Regions from separate parts of the Homo sapiens genome. Here region 2 is linked to region 1. Evidence: promoter capture Hi-C in 16 types of primary human blood cells and fetal thymus (Javierre and others, 2016). All regions are on one chromosome and are shown on one strand. Each heading gives the region's core, a stretch centred on a gene start or on the middle of the fragment in contact. The rest is flanking DNA. Distances are from core to core; before and after follow the strand shown. Region 1 holds the start of SLC39A6 (solute carrier family 39 member 6). Region 2 has its middle 15 kb from the start of MAPRE2.

Region 1 (5,598 bases), core at 3,099-5,598:
TTAACTCACTGTATAAACGTATTAAGGAAATGAGCTTTAATTTCAAAATGGGGCTCATCAGAGATTGAGAAATATGTTGCTTCAGTACTAACGCTATCCTACTTGGCCTAAACAAGTCCAAGACATGCCTCTCTTCTAGTAATGACTCTACTTGCAAAAACTCAGTTCTGTCTACATACCTGGCAAAGTAATGCTCTGCAATGAGAGGATATTAAATTATGCAGATTATTCTTGTGGAGGGCAAGGCTGGTTAATAAAACAAACCTGTACCGGCAGGCAGATGTTTTCAACTATTTAATTAGATGACAAACTTAGTTTGAAGATACTCCTCTGTGCAATCTCTCCCCCAGCCAAAAAAGAAAAAAAAAAAAAAACAACAAAAAAACCCCAAACTGGCTTTAGTACCAGTTTCTCATCTTCTGTAAAGACATTTTCAACTCCCACCACAATTCTCAGTTGGTACAACTCAGAGCAAACTTTATCACCAGGGCTGCTATGGCTATGGCCACTACTAGGATTAGTCCAGAATTAGTACAGTCACATGCTGGTTTGAATGAAGTACTAAAGTTTTGCTTATTAAACTGTATCAACTAATTCCTTGTTCCTTTTTTTTTTGACATAATTCCCTGTTCTTGACATCTCTCAGCCAAGGTGAATTACGTACAGTCTGGAAGTCTACTCTAGAAAAACCACATGAACTCAGAACCTCACTGTCCCAACTTTTCCCTTGTCCAGCATGACATTCATGGAAACTGCTCCAATTTCAATCATTCCTCAAGTCATGGTGGACCTTCTGTCAAGGAGGCAGCAGTGGTATTCTCAGTAGTCTTCAGCCCCTTCAGTCACACCTTTCCCTACAATATGGATTCTAACTCCTGCTTTCAACCCCTCATTTTCTATTTTTTATTAATAATGTTCACCTTTATAGACTTTCTCTAAAGATAGCCTTGATATCTTTCTCTACATATTTTATATTCTGTATTAGAAAAAATTGTAGGAGGCAGCACTACGCTCACCAAAAGAACTGTTCCCTAAGTTCTGAATTGGGAATGTTTACAACATAGCAGGCATGCTTTGTGGCAAGTGCCTTGCTGAGAAGGTGGAAATTCCCTTTTCAATAACTTCAACATTTTACTTTTACTTTAAACTCCTCATAACTAGAGATAGAGTAGCAGAGACAGGACAGACACACAGGTATATTAAAATAATGAACAGCACTCATCTTACCTCCTGAGGATTTTCATTTGTGTTTCTGGAATACATAAAGCCTTTTCGGGGCTCACTCACAGATTCATTTGTTTTCCTACCAGCCAGCCGGCTCACCCGGCTCTTTGATGTGACACTGGGTGGAGTGGAGCTGCTTACATCTTTGGGGAAGAGTTTTCCAGGTCTTGGAGTCTCTATTGTCTCTAGAAAGTGAGTTCCTTCAGAGACAGTGTTGTACACAGTTGAGGTCACTTCACTAGCACTAACACTGTCCTTGACATTCCTTCTACCACTGGCATGTTCTGGTCGGTGAGCTCCTTTCCCCTGGCTGTTTCTAGGATCTTTACCTGAACTATCTGAGTCATGGTCTGGGCAAAGAGCTTTTCGCTTATTTTTACCAGAAGCAGCATGATTATGGTGAGAGTGATGATCATGGTCAGAGTGATGCTCGTGCTCTGAGTGATGCTCATGGTCTGAGTGACGCTCATGGTCTGAGTGATGCTCGTGGTCTGAGTGATGGTCGTGGTCATGGTGTATATGGATTCTTTTAATCTTATCTATGCCTATATTTTGAAGTAATTTTCTGAACCCTTCAACTGACAAAGAATTATTTTCTCCATAGCGGTAGAAAAGCTGTTGTAGATGATATTGCCGTGTGGAAATTGCCAAGTCAACATTAATGCCAGATTCCCAATTCGGACTAATTTTCTCAGTGGTCTGGGGGAAAGCAGCTGCTTTTAGTTCATGAAGGGGATTTGTGACAGAGAGGGCAAAGGTCAGGATCAAGATTACAGATAACTTCCTCGCCATTGCGCCTTCCTAGAAAAGACAGGAAAAAAAAATTCTTGACTCACTTCTAAAACAAATTGAATTAAGAAACCTCATACTGAAAATTAATGTGTAATCAAATAATCAAAGTTGCCAGAGCATCATGTGGTGTGACCAGTGTGACGCTAGGTACTGTGAAGATGGAAAGAACTAGAGTCCTAGGCTCTACCCTTGCATTCCTAAAACACATGAAACAACTGGAGAAGAGCTGAGTGCTAAGAGACTGCCATTAGCACTGTAAAAGCAATAGTAATTCAGAGACAAGGGAGATCCATGTGGCCACAGCCATCAACTGCTTACTGAAGTTGAGAATTTATTTGAACGATTATTTGAATCATTGAGGCCAATGATTCATAATTAAATCTAGGCTGGGTGTGGTGGCTCATGCCTATAATCCCAGCACTTTGGGAGGCTGAGGCAGGCAGATCACCTGAGGCCAGGAGTTTGTGACCAGCCTGGGCAACATTGTGAAACCCTGTCTCAAAAAAAAAAAAGAACGAAATGAAATCTAGCTACCTTGATCATCACCATCATTTCATAAAATAACCTTCAAACACCAAAAAATAGAAATAATAATCTCAGAATTCACATATTTAAAAAATTTTAAACTAATACACTCTCCTTACATACAAGCCCATTTAAGACCCCTTTCCCCAATCACAATCCTCAAAGGTGCTCAATTTTGCCAGTGTATCCCTCAGGATATTTTCTATGCATACTCAAATACATGTATACTTAATTTTTTTTTTAAAGTTTTTTTTTTTTTTTTCTAGAGACGAGGTCTCACTATGTTGTCCGGGTTGGTCTTGAACTCCTGGCCTCAAGAGATCCTCCACCTCCAATTCCCAAAGTGCTGGGATTACAGGCGTGACCACTACGCCCAGCCTCAAATAAGTGTATACTTTAAATACACATTGAATCTTTTTTCCGACTTGACAATGAATCAGACACATTATGTCCATACATAGAATTCTTAAAGTAAACTGAACTTCATGAAAAACTCACTGTAGCATCCTTGTGTTACTACAAACCAGTCAACATTTAATCACAGGCTGTTAATCATCCACAGTAGTGTTTGGAACCAAAGGCCTGTGCCCCAAAGAGGAGGAAGCAATTGAGTTGGAGCTTGAAAAGCAGAATTCAGTTAAGCAGAGCCAGAATTCAGTTAATTCAGATCCAGCAGGATGTCCAGCACCAACGGTGGAGGTGATGGTGGTCAAACTCACATCTCCAGCAAAAGACGCAGACGTCAAGTTTACAACTAAGCAAGAGCATGGGGCTATCCAGCTCTACCACGGTCAGCTGTTCTTTGGACAGGGCTCTCGCATTCATTACCTTATCTAAAATACCGGTAAAACCTATTTTGCAAGGCGAAGGAGGAAAACACATGAAGGAATGTATATTACAAGTACTCGTTAAACTCATGTGTTGCACAAGTGCGAGGTATCATACAGGGAACAGTGGGAAATGGAGGTACGGCGTAGAACGAGGCTCCTGAAAGAGGAATCTTTGGGGCTTGAAGTTTCGGGAATTCTTTTACTAGGTAAAAGATAAACATTTAGAAATCATTCCCAGGAGAGAGGCGAGGAGCGGGGTGGGAGGGGACTAGCACAGGGGACAGCTCCGAGCCTTTCTCCAGGGAGGATGCTGAGCGCGGTCGTGGACCCGTTGAAGGATCTCCTTTCCTGCAAGTTGGTGTGTGCTGGAGGAAAAAGGAAAGCAGAAGGGAAGGGCCTTAGAGAAAAAGGCGAGTACAGAAAACGGAAAAGAGGGCACAAAGCTCTCTTCTAAAAGCTTTTTATTTCTAAACACGTCAGTCCCTTCTTCGAATATGGGATGAAAAGTACGGATCTTTTCCTCAAAAAATCCTCCGTTGCACCCCGAAGCCCATCTGAGCACCTTAAGAAGTCCGGCTCTCTAGGGTGAGTGGGCGCCTGCGGCGGGCTCCCCCCAGCATCCTCTTTCTGTAGCCCCCCTGCCCGGTCCGCAGGATCCGGTTCTCCGCAGAACCACCCCTACCCCGCCACGCCTGTCTGGCCTGAGGAGCTCCCCTCCCAGCCGCCCTGCTCCCGGACCTGAAAGACTCACGTCTCCGCGGCCTCGTTGTCCCACGGCCCGGCCACGCGCGCAGGTTTGGTTCCACACGGGCGGTCCAGAGGGCTCGGAACGGGCCCACTGGTGTCTTCGAGAAATCTCTACCAGGCGCGAACACGCGGTGGTTTCATTGGGTTGGCTGCCCCTCGGTCCGGGGGCAGCGCCGCGCAGCCACCCGGCAGCCGCGCCCCTAGCCTTCGCGAAGCTGGAAGACAATCACTAATTACCGCCGCGCGCAGCGCCGCGGGGAACCACCGCCCCCTTCGCCCAGGACTGCAGGGCATGCGCAGTGCGACCCCGGAACCCGGCTCCGCAGACGGATCCGCTTTTCCGTGTGTTCGCCGACGCCGCGGGGGCGTGGCGCGGCCCTAGCGCATTGTAAGCAGTTGGGGGTCATTTCCTCGAGGCCCTACTCGCTAGCCAGCGCCCCCGGGGCCAGCCCTGGCTGCTGCTGGGAGCCGGGTCGTAAGGGGCAGCGAGATGTTTCTGACGCTGCCCCAGGCACATGAGCCCCGGGTCCTTCGGGAGGGTCCCGAGCCACTCGGGTCGGATTTCGCTCTTGAGACAAAGGCCTGGCTCGTTCGCGGAGCGGGGCCACGGTCCAAGAGCAGAGCTAGCAAAGCGGCGGCCTTGCACAGGGGTTCCAGCCTGCGGTGGGAACGGAGAGTCTCAGGGGGGCGGGGCTGCCTCCGTCTGGCCCTCGGCTGGCTGCGAAACGTGGACTGGGTGATGCCTCAGGAGAAACCACCCTAGTAGTTCCGCTCCGAGGGCGGAAGTGCGCGTCTCTTGTTTGTGCGGCTGACCAGTTGGCGACATGGTGGCACCCGTGCTGGAGACTTCTCACGTGTTTTGCTGCCCAAACCGGGTGCGGGGAGTCCTGAACTGGAGCTCTGGGCCCAGAGGACTTCTGGCCTTTGGCACGTCCTGCTCCGTGGTGCTCTATGACCCCCTGGTAAGAGAGGTCGCTGGACGGCCGACCCTTGTGCTTTTCGGGTTGAACCTGTGGACGTGCTCCGGGCGCGCTGTTAGTTGCCGCCCCAGACCTAGGAGGCGAGTCGGGTCGGCTCAGGGGAGCGGGGTTTGGGCTCGGAGTCTCCAGTGGACCTGCCGGACTCGCTCCTCACCCCTCACCCTTTGCCGTCTCACGCGTGGCGTCATCCTAGGGTCATTGCTGCCCATGAGCTGCTAGTAACCTGTTAGTCCCACGCAGAAACCCGAATGATAAGCATCTTACCTGAAGCCTTCCTTGGGAACTGTAGTACCGTTAATCAATTTGGGTTTTAAAACAATTGAAATTTATATGTAGATTAAAACCATCATCCCACAGGTGCAATCTCATTTCAGTATTTCCTTCAGTTTTGGTTAATGAACTTTTGTTGTATTGAATTTCAAGGAAATGTTACCTGTGTTTTAGCTACGGGAATGGACATTTTAGAGAAAGTGTCAGTTTGGGGGAAAGGTCATAGGGGA
Region 2 (5,648 bases), core at 3,073-5,572, 1.1 Mb before region 1:
TTTGTTTTTTATTTAATCACAAATGTCAAATATACTACCATAAAGAACCACCGTAGGGCACAGTAAAAAATAAGTTAAATAACATAATTTTTTGGTCATAATGTTCATATAAACAAAGCGTTGATGCTTCAGGCTAACAGTGTATGCTGGCTCTATCAGACACCTTTCAATGATTTGGTTTGTAGCAGGGGGAAAGTGCCCAAGTGTTATTGCATTAGAAGCACTCAGAGTTCTGGAGCTATCTTGTTCTGGTACCATGAGCTGGGATTTTTAGCAACTTTCAGGTCTTTGTCCTCGTTCCTAAAGGTTTTTAAACTCCTAACTTGAAACTAGGAGGAATAGAGATTTTCTCCAACCCCTCTGTAAATGATGAACTCTGTGTCCCTCTCCCTTTTATTCATGCTCTGACAGCATCCTTGACTCATGAAGTATCTTTTGCAATAGTTGCTGAAAGCCTTTTGACTATAAATGCTGTTTTCTTCAGAATGAAGTAGAACAAAGCATTTTATGCAAATGAACCTATTTCAGTTCTATTGATAACGATATAACTTGCTTTTATTCAGTAAATGAAGAAGAGAATCTGAAGATGAATAAAATTTACTACGAGTATCTGCAGATCAGGATCTGAAAGTTAATTTAACCTTCATTTCCCATTTTGGAGAGAATTATAATCATGCAAAAATTTGGTTCTTACATTTGCCTGGCTGATATTCAAGGGGAATTTAGAAATAGACCTTTTCAGTAAATTTAGTATTGTCCTTTATATCATAGACAATGTTAAGGATGGCAACATCTCTCATTGCTATAGGACATTCTCTTTTGTCAGATAAACTAGTGCTAACCTCTGAGGGGACTGATTCTTTAATTCGTTGCTGCTTGTTTTCTTTCTCCATGTTGTGAGTAGCTATTAATACAATGATGAATTTGCTTGGAGGGTGAGTGAGAAAAATATAAAAAAATACAGGTTAACTATAAATTTTAGAATTATATAATTGGGAAACACTAGAGGGTTATTCTGAAGTCTTTTTAGTGAAATCCAGCTTCTCACCTTGATTAGTACTAGCAAAGCCATATTTCTACTCTTGATCAAATGTGTCCTTTATAGAGTATTTGTACAAAGCATGACATAAGCATGGATTTGCAGCTGTTTCATAACCACTGTGAAGTTTCTTGGCTCTGCTCCACAGCACTGTGTCCAAGTTTCAGGAACTCTTCTCAAGTACTGTGAATGTGGAAGGAGGCCACTTGTGGAATGATTTACTTTACCCAGAGTTGAGTGTTTTGCGTGCAGAATGTGAAGCTGCTGTTCAGCCTGTTGTGTCCAAATGTAAGTGACTGGCCAAAGAAACTTTTTTTGGAGCTTGTCATCCAGCCTCAAAACTTACCCTCTGTGGATCTTTGCATGTTCTAACCATCAATAGGAAATAGCAATGCTATAACTTTTCATTTCTTCCAGCCAATAATCCCCTATGAATTTTTTAGCTGATATTTTAATGAGCTTAAAACATTGTGATTCTGACTTTAATGATGTACTCGATTGTAATTAAAGCAGTTATAAAGATGAGACAGTCGTGGCTGAATGTTCCCAACTCTATGTGCTCTTCACCCTAGGAGGACAGGGACTCAGAGGTAACAACTCGGATACTGTTAACATTTACATCATCAGAATTCATTTCACTAAATTGCCGTCCTCTCTGTAGTTTTTTAATAAAGCAAGCTGAAGTTATTTTCAAACAGTAGCTTAGAAGTCTAGCAGTTCCACTGAACATAGTCCAGTGGAATAATCAGATGTAGTAATAGATTCTTCCAAGAGCATTTATGAAGGATTCCAAATAGGAATGTTTACAGGTTCTTCTCTTTGTTTACCAAGTACAGAGGAAGCTTTGCTTATGCTGATACCAGGTGGCAAAACTAACATTCCAGGTTAGGCCGAAACCAAATTCAATCTTACTCTTTCTATACACGGTGGGGCATAAGTTTCTAAAGGTAGTTAGGTTTTACAGTGCCAAAAGAAAAACTTAGAATTTTTGTCTTGAAATGATAGGGAACCCCTGAAGACTTCTAAAAATGAAAGGAGGGAAGATAGAGCTGGTGGTGAGATGTGAATTGATTGTGAAGCAAGGAAACCTCTCTAGAGAGACTCATGAGGTAGGTGAGAGGAAGGAGCGTGTCTGAAGCAGGGTGTGAGCAGCGGGAGAGGAATGGGCAGGACATACCTGTCCCCCTGTGAAATGAACAGGTATGATGTCTGAATCAGACAGATGGGTAGAGAGGGAAAAACATTCTGAGGATTCAAAGCTAAGTGCTGGCTATCAGTTTAGCTCAAGCAGGAGATCTGGAGAGGGAGCCAAGTAGGAGAGAAGCTTCCTCATTAAATGTACTGTGTATTGTCTAAACCAATGGCCGCAACCTAATTTCTGTGCATGCCTCTGACCTGCTTATTCAGCAAGTGAGAGAATGCAGCGATGAATATGGACACCACACCACAGTCTCACATTTTTACAAGGTGCTTTTGGAAACCTGAATGGAGATTTGACTTTTTTTTTTTAGTTGCTTCCATGGCAACCCTCCCCATGAAAACAGGCGCAGTCTGCAGAGGCCTGTTCTTTTCTGTTGATGTTTGTCACTACCACATGGGGTCAGGTTTGTTCTTTCTCCCTCCCCAAAAATATTTGCTAGCTCTGTGGAAAAACTGCTGTTGCCCTAAACAGTTTACCTGCATCTGTACCCCGCTGTTCCTGTGCCAAGGTGACTAGGGACCTTCTGTGTGGCTTTGGCATCCCTCAGTTTCCAGATATAAAGCAGAGGACAGGTTCCCTCTACTCTCAAATTCCCATGGGCATGGCTGGGGATAGGAGAGCAGGCAGAGTCCCTCTTCAAGGACACTCACCAGCTCCTAACCCAACATCTCTAACCAGTCATGTAGTCTTGTGGCTTATAGTACGAACTTTAGTTTCTGAATCTTTGAAAGATCTTAAGCTTTTGATACTTGAAAATGAGACTCTGAGGCTCATAAACATTTCTTCAGGGTTTTTTCTCTGCCATGGGCTTACAAGTTGATTTTGAAACTCCGAAGTTGAACATTCATTCTTTTCTTCCTCTCTTGCATTCCTGCCCCATGCTGAAAACTCAGCGAGTAAAGAAGGTTCAGCAGGTGTGTGTGGCAGGTTTTCCAAAGTGGGTTACTACAATCTCTCCCATCCCACAGGTTTTCTTGCAGTGTGAGATTGACATTCCTCCTAGTTATGTTACCAGTGGTGTTGATAGCCCTTCCTCTTGAATCTGGGTGGAACTTTGTGGCAGCCCTGACCAGCAAAATACAATGGAAGTGATGCTCTGTGACTTCCAAGACTAGGTTTTAAAACTGCCATGCCCTTCTGCCTGCTCATTAGGGATGCTTGTGCTAGGAACCCAGCCACCATGCTGTGAGGAGCCCAGGCCACATGGGGAAGCCTTGCATAGGTGTTCCAACCAGAGCCCCAGCTGAGGCCCCAATTAAAAGGCAACGTCAGCCACCAGTCATGAGACTGAGGAAGCCTTTATGAAGACTTCAGCAGTCAGTCACCTTCCAACCATAGCTACATGAGAGACCATGGGTGACAACCACCTAGCCAAGCCCAGTCAACCTCCAGAATGACAAGAGATAATAATAAAATGATTATTGCTATTTTAATCCACCAAGTTTAGAGTCACAATAGAGAACCAACAGGGTTTTTCTGTTATCTGTTAATGCATAACAGCCTACCACAAAACTTATTAACTTAAAATAACCATTTGTCCTACATTATGGTTTTGTGGACCAGGAGTTCAGGAAGGTCTTGGTTAGGTGGGTCCTTTCTAATCCATATATCCATATAGTGTCAGCTGTGGTGGGTGAAGATGCAGGATGCTTCCTCAGTCACATATTTGGAGCCTTGGTACTCTTTGTGGTCTCTCCTCTCTTCCCCTCCCTCTCCATGTGTCCCACCCTCTGGGCCTCTCTACATGGTTGGTACTTCCCCCAGAGTAGCTAGACTTCTCACAGGGCAGCAGACCTGCCTTCTTACAGAGCAGCATGGTAGTCCCAGGGTAGCTGAACTTCTCACAGGGCAGCTGACCTTTAAGAGACAAAGGCAAAAGCTGCCTGTCATTGTAAGGTCTAGGTCAAGAACTGGTCGGCATCATTTCTACCAAAATCTATTGATCAAAGCTGCCACCATGATTCAAAGGGAGGAGAAATAAATCCAACCTCTAGAATGGAAGGGTAAGAAAAAATTATGGCCACAGGGGCAAGGCAGGAACCTAGGTTTATATCTCAAAATGTTACCTTACAAATCTTATTATACCTGTTTTATGGGTGAAGAAGCTGAAGCTAGAGGAGTTAAGTAATTTGGCCAAGGTTACACAACTTGTAAGCACTTGGATTCAAATCCAAAGCATATGCATCAAAACCATGAACTCTGAATTTTGCTATTCTTCTATGCAAAATATAGTAAATATATAATGTATACTATATTTTCTTAATTCCCCAGTACTAACTTTTATAAGGAAGATAACATCCCCCAACCCCCCAAACACATACACATTACAGCTCTAATTTTAGAAAAACCTAGAGAACTATTCTAAATGACCTGATTTGGGTCATAGGCCTATCTCTGCATCAATCCTCAGGGTCTGGAGGATGGAATAATTATATTTGGCAAGCTCTGCTACAACCACAAGGATTGAAGAAATAATTTCCCGAAAGAGGGAGGAGCAAACAAAATAATGTTCACTGTGCATGCTCTTTATACTGCAAGCCATTATTTCTCATTCATGATTTCATTGCATCATTGAAGGCAGATAGGATCTGTCCCAGTGAGACTGGAATTGTGGGCTGGTGGGAATGGCGTGAAGACAGGCTGTGTAGAGAAGTTCATTCCAAGCATTGATTCTAGATCTATCAGCTAACTATTAACTCATTATGTCTCACATATTAAGACTAAGACCTCTGGTTTTCCTAGGGGGCTGATTCCTTTATGTAGAAGTTAAATGGAGGCTTCTTAAAGGAGGCCCATTATGTTTTCATGTGCTACACTATGCAGTTGGACCCTTCATTTCTACTTTCTGTACATGTTGAGTCAATGTGAATTGAGAATAGGAAGATGCTTGGTGTCTAAGCACTTGAGGAAACAAAACATAAGCTCTAATTAAAACATTTCTGATGGGAAACTTAGTCTTACTTCATGATTTCCAGTTGCATTTTTTTTCCTAATGAAATAAGCTGCTTTAATTTTCTTTTTAAAAATTTTATTTGGATGAGGTCAGAAAATGAGGAATTTCTCTTCCATTACTCACACTGCTTTCCAGCTGCCGGCCTCATGTTCCCTTGACACGCTGTCGAGGAGCCATCCAGAAGCCATAGCTCTGCCATGGTACACACCAGACTTGACAGAGAAGTTCCAGGCTCAGGAAGACGCTTCCTTCCAATGTCCCTGGTTGCCACTTGATGGCCTGGGTTCTGAGTAGCTCTGGAACTCTGGAAGTCCCTGGTACCTGATGGAATGACCATTGCCCCACTTTCTCCTGACTTCCTTTGTATGTATATTAAGGAGTTGCCACTCAGCTTGCACTCTTTAATATCAAAGTCAGAAATAAAGCCCAGTGAGTTAGTTGATTTTTAAGAACCC

The links. The method cuts DNA at HindIII sites, captures the fragments that hold promoters and counts their contacts. A CHiCAGO score of 5 or more calls a contact.
Region 2: a contact is called between a fragment that was not itself captured here and the fragment with the promoter of SLC39A6 in region 1, in 1 of 17 cell types (naive CD8 T cells). The highest score is 5.5, in naive CD8 T cells.

The regions. Positions count from the first base shown.
Region 1 is chr18:36,124,992-36,130,589 of GRCh38, forward strand. It overlaps SLC39A6 (solute carrier family 39 member 6), which reads right to left and starts at 4,349. Exons shown (of 10, transcript NM_012319.4): 1 at 4,123-4,349; 2 at 1,228-2,025. The coding sequence starts at 2,016. ELP2 (elongator acetyltransferase complex subunit 2) reads left to right here and starts at 4,908. Exons shown (of 22, transcript NM_018255.4): 1 at 4,908-5,080. The coding sequence starts at 4,943. RefSeq lists enhancers at 4,147-4,652, 4,275-4,569, 4,600-4,789, 4,653-5,158, 4,950-5,159. The HindIII fragment of the contact is 4,684 bases long and covers 3,827-5,598 here.
Region 2 is chr18:35,023,972-35,029,619 of GRCh38, forward strand. It overlaps a transcript of MAPRE2 not described here. Among named protein-coding and RNA genes, the nearest start is that of MAPRE2, 15 kb to the right of the region's middle. The HindIII fragment of the contact is 2,691 bases long and covers 2,978-5,648 here.